Regions from separate parts of the Homo sapiens genome. Here region 2 is linked to region 1. Evidence: promoter capture Hi-C in human tissues and cell types (Jung and others, 2019). All regions are on one chromosome and are shown on one strand. The core of a region is centred on a gene start or on the middle of the fragment in contact, and the rest is flanking DNA. Distances in the headings are between cores, read along the strand shown.

Region 1 (5,661 bases), core at 2,610-5,109:
GCATCTGGGTAAAACTTAGGGGGAACTGCAAAGCCAGGGACTTCAAATGGCCCTGAGCCTTCGACCTGTCCAGCCCTCAAGAGTAAACAGAAATTAATGAACAAAGCCCCGAAGAGATCAGACTTGCAGCCTGGGGCCTGGCTCATGGGAGACCAGGCCTGCGATCGCCCAGGGAGGATGGCTTTCCCCCTCGCACCTTTTCCTCCCCTTCCCGCCCTATTTAAAGGATTCCTCTCCACTCTTTGGGGCTAAACAAATTCTGTAGCCGGCCAACGATTTGAAAATATTGCACCTTGTTTATTGACTCCTGTAGTGTGTGGCAGCGGGTGTCTACACGGCGTGTGGTTATAGTTATATAGATAGATAGATAGATAACATGTGCTGAATACAGAATACGAAACAGAAAGGAAACCCGGTAACACCTCCGGTGGGCCACCAGGTCCTGAGTTTGTTCAGCCTCCCCCCACCCCCAACTTTTGATCTCATTCGGCTGGTTTTCCTCGAAGAGTCCTGCGTCCCCCGACAATCCGGAGATCTGGACCGAGGTATCTGCTGCGGAGGGGAGACAGCTGCGAAACGAAATCGACTGTGCTATGGCGCTCCAGGCCCGCAAAGGGGGCAGAGGATCGGTAGGGCCTGGAATTTCTCAAGCCACGACCCCCATTTTTCTCTCCTTCATGCTTTTAATTTGTTATGTCCTTGGGCTCCCCGCCAACGCTTCGCGGAGGCCGCGGAAAGGCAGAGGGAGAGAAGCCCTTCTCGCTTTGGAAGAACCAAGCGCGGCCAGGGTCCTAGCCTCCTGGTCTCCTCTCGCTGCCAGGGTCGGGGCCATCGTCCTCCCCGGCGCCCAGCCGGCGTTTCTGCCTCAGAGACAGTCCTGGCGACCGGACCCAGTCATCCTCCTCGCCCCTGAGTCCCCTTCCCCAGGCCTCGAGTGAGCTGCGATCCGAAGCCCTGAGGAGCTAGACGTACATATTTTTTTAACGAGGGGACCTGACCTTTAGGTCAGGCCCTTCTCGAGCTTCAGTCCCGCGGCGCCAGGCTGCGCTGGGGTGCCCGCCGCGTGACCCGCCCCGTCCCTACCAGGCCCGGATGCCCTGCAAGGTGCCCTGAGCGCACGCGGCCCCGGCTGCAGTACCCTGGTGCAACGGCTGTGCGCTGCCGCCGCTGCCGAAGCCTCCTAGGTTGCTCACGTTCACAAAGGGGCCGCCTCCGGCCGCGCTGCAGGCGGGCTGCATGGCAGTGGTCGCCGCGGAGGTCCCGCCGCCGCCGCCGCCGCCGCCCGCCGGGTACGCACAGCCATAGCTGCTGCTGTAGGCCGCCGCTGCTGCGGCGGCGGCGGCGGCGGCGGCGGCGGCCGCGGCCGAGTTCCCATAGCCGTAGGCGGGGAAGCTGTTGTAGGAGTAGGCGCTGGCGCCCACGCTGTAGGGCGCGCCGTAGGCCTGCGCGCTGGGCGTGACGCACGGCTTGCCGTCCCGCACCAGCACCGGGACAGCCACGCGGCGCGGCGGCGGCGGGGGCGCGTGTGCGCCAAGCTCCAGAGACTTGTCCTGCCGCTGTCTCTTGCACTTGTACCTGCGATTCTGGAACCAGATTTTCACCTGAGTGGATGTGAGCTTCAGGCTGCTGGCGAGGTGCTCGCGCTCGGGTGCCGACAGGTACCGCTGCTGCTTGAACCTGCGTTCCAGCTCGAAGACCTGGGCTTGCGAGAAGAGGACCCGGGGCTTCCGGCGGCTGCGTGGCTTCGGCCTCTCGCTCTCCTCCGCCGCCTTGCAGTCTCCGGCCGTCTCTAGAGACTTCTTCAGCTGGCAGCTTTCTGCGGAAGAAGCAAACAACAGCGTCCTTAGCTGTTCCCGGCCGCACCGCGGCTCCTGTCCTGGAGCACCGTGACCCTTTTTGGTGGCTGCGCAGAGCGTGCGGTAGTAAATGGCTGGACTTTTGGGAACGTTTGTGGCTCCTGGCGCTGTGGGACCCTGAGACAGCCCCAGTACCCAAAGAACGCCCTTAGCAGGCGGAGGCGCGTTTCGTGGAGAGGGGTAGTTAGTGCGTGTTTATTTGGATCTTGAGCATCTGCGAGAGAAGAGATTACTCTGTATTAAATATGCGGCTCGACGTGCTAATGACTATTTTCAGGATGAAGGCTTGCAACTACATAATAACTACAGTATTTGCAAACTCGTTTGCATTCTACTCCACCAAGGATAACTGAAGGTGTGAGGCGTGTTGGTATGAGTGGGCCGGTGGGCATGGGTTGCGCGAAAATCTGTTCTGAGTGTAACGCTTGTGCATGGCTCAGGGACTTGTGTGTGTGTGTGGCTTATAAAAGACTACAAGCGAATGTTATGACGACATCTGTGTGCACTTTGAAAATGAAGTTTGATTGACTAGTTATAGACAGTTTCATGCCGATTTTCGGCTCTGGGAACTATGAGAGCATAGGCCTTGGCCTCTGCCACATCAAACCGCCTCTTGGGGAAAGACTGTGATTCTGTCCTCTTAAATACACTTCCTTGGGGACTTTATTTGATTATCCCATCTCCCTATCAATTCACTTCCCATCCGATGTGAGCAGCCAAGATCTCGGACTCAAGTTCGGCGCGTTTTCTATTAGGCCCGCAGCCTGGGACACAAAGCAAAACGTTACGGATTTTCAAAAAAGGCTGGCGCCTTAGGGATGTGAGAGCTATGGTCGCGCGGAATAGACATTGTTCCCACGCACTTTCCGATCATCTCCTCTCTCTCTACCGAGTGCCACGGGTTCAAGGACGCTGAGCTCCAAGCAGAGAAGGGAGGAAACCGCCCAGCTGGCCTCCACCAAAGTTCCTGCCCCTGCGGGTGCGAGAGACACAGGCTGCTTGGGCTGTCTTTTCGGAGAAGAAGGGGTGGCTGCCCTGGGCTAAGAGAACTCATCTCACCCTAGAGGGAAAACGAAAAAGGTCCAGGCTCCTGCCCTTTTTGGGGGAAGAGCCTTTTGGGGCGGGGGGAAGAGCAAAAATACTGCCAGTTATGAGGACCCAGGCGCTGAGCCCACGTCGCCTCTCAGCATCAGGGCAGCAGTAACCACCTTCCCTTCCCTCATTTCCCCCTTTTGGGGGGAGTAGTTGTCAGGGTCACCTCGTCCTTGTCTCTCCACCCCGGCTCCCTTGCAGGTACCTGCGCTTTGTGGAGCTGTCGGTGACCAGGGCGGAGGCATGGCCCCAGCCAAAGGGTAAAGGGATGGGCAGCTGCGCTGGCAAGGTCTGTGGGCTGTTTGTGTGCGCTCTGCCATTGCTCCAGGTGTGCGGGTGCGTTTTCTTTCCCCCTCTACTCACTTTGGCTCCGGTCCCTCACGACCTCGGGCTCCTCTTCATGTTCCTTGGGCTCGCTGCACGAGTCTCGCAGGACCGTGTGGACATAGCCCTGGGGACACAGCCCTGAATCCCCGTGGCCGTCTGCTGCGGCTAGTGAGTTCAAATAGGACAATTTCTCGCCCTCGTCTTCCTCGTCCTCCTCCCCTCCGTCAGAAAATTGCGTCCCCTCAGCGGCGGCCAGCATGCAGGGCGCAGAGTGGAAGTGGTGCTCCAAGTCCGCCTGCAAGTGCGCACCATGGAAGTGCTGGTGCTGCTGCTCCAGATTCAAAATGTCTTTGACTGAGAAAGGGGTGGAGGTGACCGGGCTTGGTAACATCATCAGGGCCACTTAATTGTCCAGTCCAAATAATAAATCCCGGCGGGGGCGGGGAGGCAGCGCGGCGGCTCCAGCTCTCCTCCTGGACTCCGCCGCTGCTGCCGAGTCGGGCTTTTGACAGACGCGGTCCCACTCCAGTCTAAATCGCCTCCATTGGCCGGGACCTGGGGGTCTGGGTTTTGTTACAGCCACTGCAGGGACTGGGGCCCGGGCTCCTAAGCCTCTGTCCGGGAGATTTGCGTCACGTTGGGGGGGCGGGGCTGGCGCCCCAACCTCCCTCCCTATAGGTTCTGGCTCATGTGGGCCACGCCCCCTGCTCTCTGCGAGTGGGATGTTGCGGCTCTACCAGAAATAGACAAGGACTAGTATAGAGTCCTGAAGTCCGAGACGCTGCGGGCGAGGCTGCACAGATCCGGTTCCTGAACCATTGATTCCCGCGTGGCTGCACCTTCCCGACCTAGGCCAGTTCTGGGAGGCTTGCTGTCCACGAACCAACGCCAGGGAAGGATGCCCCAGGAGTGTGTTTTTTTCAGCTGCTGCGCGGGGCAGGAAAACTTCCTGGCGGGTAAATACTGGGCGCTGGATCCACGAGGAGATGCAGTGTTTTATCTATCTATGGGTGGGCGACATGTCCTTTTTCAACTTGTTGCCTTTGCTCAAGCTTTCTCTCCACTTGGAACATGTTTCTGACACTTAGCCTCCACGAGTGGAAACTGTTCTCCAAGGAAGAGCTCCTAGATCGTCTAGCCGGAAGTCCCCTCTTTCAGGCTCTGAACCTGCAGCTTGTGTTAGCAAAGGACATGCATGTCACTTATCACTTCCCACTTAATTCTATAGCTGTATGTGCCTGCCTGGTCGCCCCAGTTAGACTGTAAGCTCCATGAGGGCAGTGTCCCGGGGTTGCTTTTGCCCTTGTATCCCTGGCAGCAGCCGCACAGAGCAGTATGTGAAAGGAAGATAGAGTTATGACTAAACTTTGGTATTCGACAGCTCTTGCTTGGCCTAGTCAGTGTGTGATCTTCGGCGTTTCTAAGTCTGTTTTCTCGTCTATAAAACGAAGGCAGTAATACCTTTTTTGGTTGTTGCTAGGGTTGAATGAGGCAAAACATGCCAGAATCTTAGTGCACGGCCTCACGCGTGTTAAGCGCTCAGTACGTGTCAACGACTGCTTTTCTGTATGGGAGGTCAAGCAGTGTTTGTTGACTGCATTGGTGGTGCGTGGCTGGAGTGTGGCACATACTGAGAGCAGGATCTGTCCTCACAAGGGAGGTGACCCAGCCTTGGCAGCCTTCTTTTCCACCTATTGAAATCAGGAGCCTGAATGTAGGCCTTGCCTCTCCGACAGGCTTTTAAAATTTCTCTACCTACACGCCTTCTGGCACCTTCATGAGGCCCTGGTTGTTTTCTGGGGGAGTCTATACAGTCCCCCACAGATTCTGGAAACTCTGAGCTGGAAACTCTGGGACCATCTTCTCCCACAATAGGCATTTGCTCGCTACCAGGCCTAGCCCAGTGAGGAGCAGCGGGCGCTGCTTTGAGGGCCACAGAAAGACCCGTGTGCAGCGCTGGCCTTAAAAAAATAGGGAACGGTTCCAGCTCAACCGTGGCTGTCCTCATCCGGCCCCAGCCAATCCAAGCATTTTTTGGCGGTCAGGATGGCGGAGCTGAAAGAGACCCGTCTCACCTGGAAGGGGCAGGTGAAAGGTGCAGGGACGGTGGACATTGCCTCCGAGCGGCATAAGACACCGGCTGGGAGTGGGTACGAGGGTGGAGGGCTGCCACGCGGGTCCCGCAACGGCGACAGGAGTGGGTGCCCAAGGTTGAAGGGAGAAAGAACAGCCTGTCGGGAGGTGGGAGAGGCGGGGCTCTGCAGAAGGGAGCGGAACTGTTGTGGAGAGGCAGCCCCTGGGTCCGCCCGGGGAGCTGGGATGCCGCGCGGGCCACGTGCGCCCCGGAGTACTTAGGGTAGCGGCGGCCCGCAGGCAGTAGGGAGAG
Region 2 (5,060 bases), core at 562-3,061, 83 kb before region 1:
CTATTCAGAATCAAATATGGTGAATAAAGTGGGAGGTCAAAATGGGTAATACTGCTTGGCATCAAAATAAGGTGGGACTGGAAAGCAAGGAGACTGCTTTACTTCTGAGGCCTATAAACCCGTTGAGGAAACACCTCTGAAAGAGAAGTTCCAGAAAGGTTTTGCATAACCACAGCTTTGCTGGAATAAGTCAATTGTAGCCTTCCAAGGTAACTATTTTGAAGAACAGTTCTTACTCATTTACATAAACTTTGGAATTTTTGTTTTTTAAAAATTAGTCATACAACATAGCAGTTATGCCTGAAAGCCCTCTATTAAGGAAATAATGATTTGAGAAAAAAATGCTCAGGAGTTGTCAACAATACGAAAGCTTATTTTAGAAGGCTCATTTTCACTTGCACTTAATGCTGGGATTTAAATGACTTAGAGGGAAGAACTAGGTGAGGCCAGTATGATTTAGTGTCAGTGAGTATGTTAAACACTTTTGTGCAGGCATGAAAGTAAAATTCAAATCTCTTCCTTCAGAAAAGACTTCCCAGTTTGCTTGTCCCCAGCAGCTATCCTTCTTCTTTTAATAAGTGGATGAGTGGGGAGGAAAAGCAGCCCAGTCTTTAAGACTGGAGGCAGATATCCATGTTGTTGGAGCCTAAAGGGCAACCACAATGTTTGCAAATGAAAGCTGACATTGCCTTTTGACATGCAGGCCTGTCCATCCTCAGCTACTTATCAGGGTCAAGTTGACTTTAAATATCCTTGAGAGGGACCATGAGAAGTCAGTGTAGCCTTGCTGGATCATGGTTATTCAACCAGCTATTTCCATGGCTATAATGGAGAGGCTTGGGAGCCCAGATAAATCCCAGTTTCCTTTTCTGGGCCTCAAAGGCAAGCGCCAGACTTTATCTATGGGGACATTCTGCAACCCAAAACAGTCAGAACCCTTCTCAAAATCCTCTGGCGAAGTACCCACCTATCATCAAGCTGCTGTTGTTGGCTCTGAAGTGGTAAAGCAAATATCCACTTATATAATAAAGAGGGGAAGAGCAGAGGGAGATAAATCTCCAATTTCCAGATGTAAATGGTATCTATACATATTCACCTGTGAAAGATTAGGAAATGGAAACATTAGCTTATTTGATTTTCTTGCATCTAGTAATAAGTATTCAGTGATCTTGTGTGCCAAGCACTATCTGAAGTACCTTACATACATTTATTCATTTAATCTGTGAAGCAACTTCATGAAGTAGAAACCATTTTCATTATTTTACAGTTGAAAGGAGGCTTAGGGAAGTTATATAACTTGTCCAAGGTCACACAGTTTAAGTAGCACAGTTATGATTTGAACTCAGTGTATCAGACTCTCAAGCCTTCCATATAGCTTCCCAAAAGCAGATTACAAGAACCAGGCAAGGCACAGAATTTCACAGTAAAGCTTGTCCCTGAACATATGACCTTCAGATTAATAGTGGGACATGTAAATCATTATAGCCACAGAGAAACTTTAAAAGGAAAACAAAAAATACAAAATTAACCCTGATTTATTGGTGGCTAAGGACAGTTAGTTGCCCATGTATATTTGTGAAATGACTTATACAGGAGGCAATGCTACCATGATCTGTAAATTCTTAGATATGAACAAATATAGAATCATTTTGAATACAATAAAAATCTTTGTATTTCTAGCATCTTATAAATTACCAATGGCTTTTACATATCTTATCTCTTTTAATCCCCACAACAGCCCTGTGAGCCAGTCATTCTTGGCCTCATGTTATAGATGACAATTTTGAAGCTTAAAGAGGTTAAGTGACATACCCAAGATCACACAACTAGCAAAGCTGAGGCTCAGACTCAGGCTTTTTGACTCAAATGTGGCTTGTCTTTTACCAAACCACTTACCTCTCTACTGGGTTGTTTGGCTTTTCTCCAAAGCCAGGTAGAAGTTTTTCACATTGAGGTTTTTCAGAAATTCTTACTTAGATATTTCATCTTTCTGTAAAAGGCAGATTTATTGGCCCACAAATTTGGGGAGCCATATTCATTTTTATATTTGGCATAGCTTATGCCCAGGTCCTCTCCATAAGGGTGTACTTTTATCGAGTTAGAATTGTTGAGTTAGATTTAGATGTGTATATAGAATGTTCAAAGTAGCTTCCCACAGTCCGGTTTTCTCTTGGGGGTGAGGAGTTCCAGGCCTCCGAAGCCAAACCGTTCAGAATTGGTAGCCAAATACACCATTGACTGCAGCAGAGCAATGCAATTGCTGAACATTCCCCTTATACAAGATCAGTTTTGAATAAATGCATGGAAACACGATAAGCTAAGAGGCTCAATTTATCTTTGCTTATTAGTAGCTCTAGCCAGCATATGACCCGTAGTCTCTATGAACAACTCTTCTGATGGATTTTATATGCCTTGTGTGATGTGAAAGATGAGTAAACAAACCCTTTATTGGAAATACATGAGGTTTTGTGGGGGGAAGTAGGAAAGAATGTGTCAAATTGTGATAAGTGATACTGTGTAGAGTATTTCTGATTGAACATCCAGTAACTAACCTTTTAAGCTTCCGGTTTTTTGTTGGTAGCAGGCAGGAGAAAATAACCAGAGGAATGTGGATTGCTTGCAGCTAACCGGGACCTGTTCATCTGGTTAGTTTCTTTTCTCCCATGCTCTTGAGGAAAGGTATTACTCTTGGATTCCAGTTGGCCAAGAGGAAGGTTCAAGCTTTTTTTTTTTTTTTTTTTGAGATGGAGTTTTGCTCTTGTTGCCCAGGCTGCCGTGCAGTGGCTCAAACCAGCGAAGGCTCACTACAACCTCCGCCTCACAGGTTCAAGCGATTCTCCTGCCTCCTGAGTAGCTGGGATTACAGGTGCACACCACCATGCCCGGCTAATTTTTTTGTATTTTTAATAGAGACGGGGTTTCACCATGTTGGCTAGGCTGGTCTCGAACTCCTGACCTCAGGTGATCTGCTCGCCTTGGCCTCTCAAAGTGCTGGGATTACAGACGTGAGCCACCGTGCCTGGCCGAAGGTTCAAGCTTTTAAATCCAAATAGAATCTAGTGATTAGATTGATGCAGAAATTTAAACTGTACTTGGGCATCACTTGCTTCCATTGGCTCACCAGTGATTGTAGCTGATACAGTTATGTGACAAAAGATTCATTCATTTAGCAAACAAATCAGAGGTGCTTATTGTGTGTCAGGCACCAGACATTGATTTTTCTTTTTAGACATTGATTTTATATTAACTATTAGTTTCCATGTTACTTTACCTTGAATTGGGTCAGTAGATGAGAAATTTTCCTGGGGAGACACACTCTTCAGAAAAGGTCTAATTTAGGGAGGTGTTTTGAATAAGATTAATTTCCCAAATTTCAACAAAACTTTGTCCAAGAACATCATACAAAGTGTCTACCCTACGCTTTTATTCCAATCATCAAATCCTTTAGAGAGATTCCAAGGATTATGTTTCACTGAGACTGATTTTATTTGCTAATGCCAATTTTGGGATTCAATCAGTTTAAATTAGAAATCTGGAAGGGCCCTTCAGGATTGGAGACTAGATTGGTTTCTAGCTAGACACTCCCACCTTTGCAGTTTCAGGGTAAACTTTCTTTCCCAAGAAATAAAAGCATGTATTAAGAATGCTGCTTCTGCCAAGACTCTGTGTAGACCCAGCCACCATTGCCAGATAGTCTGAAAAAGTATAAAAAAATTAGCCGCCCCTCAGTGTGTGGTCATGAAGCAGGGCCAGGGGCACTCTTTAGGTATACAGCATAAAGTATGTCATAGATAGTAAATACTGGAGTTTAGAATCCATTTGTAAAGAACTGTCAGCTTGAGTGTATTAAGGCACAAAAGCAACTTCTGAAACACAGGCTTGATATTTGTTGCTGGGGCTCTGAATCATTTTGGAGTACCAGGACACTTAGCAATAGGTGGGATTATTTTTTCAGGGAAAATAATGGTGTTCCATTCTTAGGGTCATAGATGACTAGAAAAAGAAAGGTCCAAGGCTTAGAAGAAAGATCAGCTATAGATTGGAAATAAGCTGAAAGCCAGATATCCCTCTCACAGATTGGCACAGCTCCATGTAGAAGGTCTGCCCAGTGTGTTGAGGTGGGGCGAGAAGTTGGCATTGCTGACATTGCGCTTCTCCTTGCTGTAATTTCAGACCCGGATGCAGAGTCTACAGCCTGACCCAGCTGCCCGCTATCGCAATGTGTTGGAGGCCCTCTGGAGGATTATAAGAACGGAGGGCCTATGGAGGCCCATGAGGGGGCTGAACGTCACAGCAACAGGCGCAGGGCCTGCCCACGCCCTTTATTTTGCCTGCTACGAAAAGTTAAAAAAGACATTGAGTGATGTAATCCACCCTGGGGGCAATAGCCATATTGCCAATGGTATTGAGCCTTCCTGTGCTGGTTCCCCCACTTTCCCAACTCTTTGGGCTTTGCTGCTGTCAGTGCTTTCCAGTCTCAGCATGGTTTGGAGCTGAAGCTTTGGGCTGGGATAGGCCAGATTATAAGGGAGGGACTTCCAAACCTGATGTTCTCAGACAACGGGCCGCTTCAACCCTGCCTTTTCCTTTGGGGCACCTCAACAAAGGGTTACAGTATCCTCCCTTACCTACCAGCTTGACTTGTTCCTCTCATCTCCCTGGCATCAACTTCTAATGCCCTGGTAATGTGGAGACACACTGAACTACCCCCAGTCTATGTTTGACAGTTGGGTGGTGTCCTGCTCCTTAGGGCAGGATTGGAGGCGACCCAGCCAGCCACCCAAGGAAGATACTAATGAAGCCCCTGCTTTTTGCCTCACCTTTTCAGGATCCCAACTCACCAGAGGCAGTTTGTGTTGAGAACATGACAAAGCCTCATGACAAAATGAATGGGGGTGGGGCCAAGGAACTGCATGAAGAAACCAGAAGGTTGTGTGGAAGTAAGAGAAAGGATAGCAGCCTAGGGCTTTAGGACCGGCTGGAAACCAAGTTGAGTGTGGAGAGGATGAGGGGTAGAGTAGTTCAGGACCTGAACGAAAGATCTTTGTAGACAAATGTTA

The links. The method cuts DNA at HindIII sites, captures the fragments that hold promoters and counts their contacts. A contact is called where the count stands out against the background at its distance.
Region 2: a contact is called between a fragment that was not itself captured here and the fragment with the promoter of NKX2-3 in region 1, in 3 of the 25 tissues and cell types used here (H1 embryonic stem cells, bladder and neural progenitor cells).

What each region holds. Positions count from the first base shown.
Region 1 is chr10:99,531,140-99,536,800 of GRCh38, reverse strand. It overlaps NKX2-3 (NK2 homeobox 3), which reads right to left and starts at 3,859. Exons shown (of 2, transcript NM_145285.3): 1 at 3,312-3,859; 2 at 277-1,816. The coding sequence starts at 3,669. The coding sequence ends at 1,080. LINC01475 (long intergenic non-protein coding RNA 1475) reads left to right here and starts at 5,624. Exons shown (of 5, transcript NR_120618.1): 1 at 5,624-5,661. RefSeq lists a silencer at 1,347-1,496 and an enhancer at 3,638-4,529. The HindIII fragment of the contact is 5,212 bases long and covers 1,330-5,661 here.
Region 2 is chr10:99,613,038-99,618,097 of GRCh38, reverse strand. SLC25A28 (solute carrier family 25 member 28) reads left to right here. Exons shown (of 4, transcript NM_031212.4): 2 at 4,174-4,402. Among named protein-coding and RNA genes, the nearest start is that of SLC25A28, 4.9 kb to the left of the region's middle. The HindIII fragment of the contact is 3,914 bases long and covers 1-3,768 here.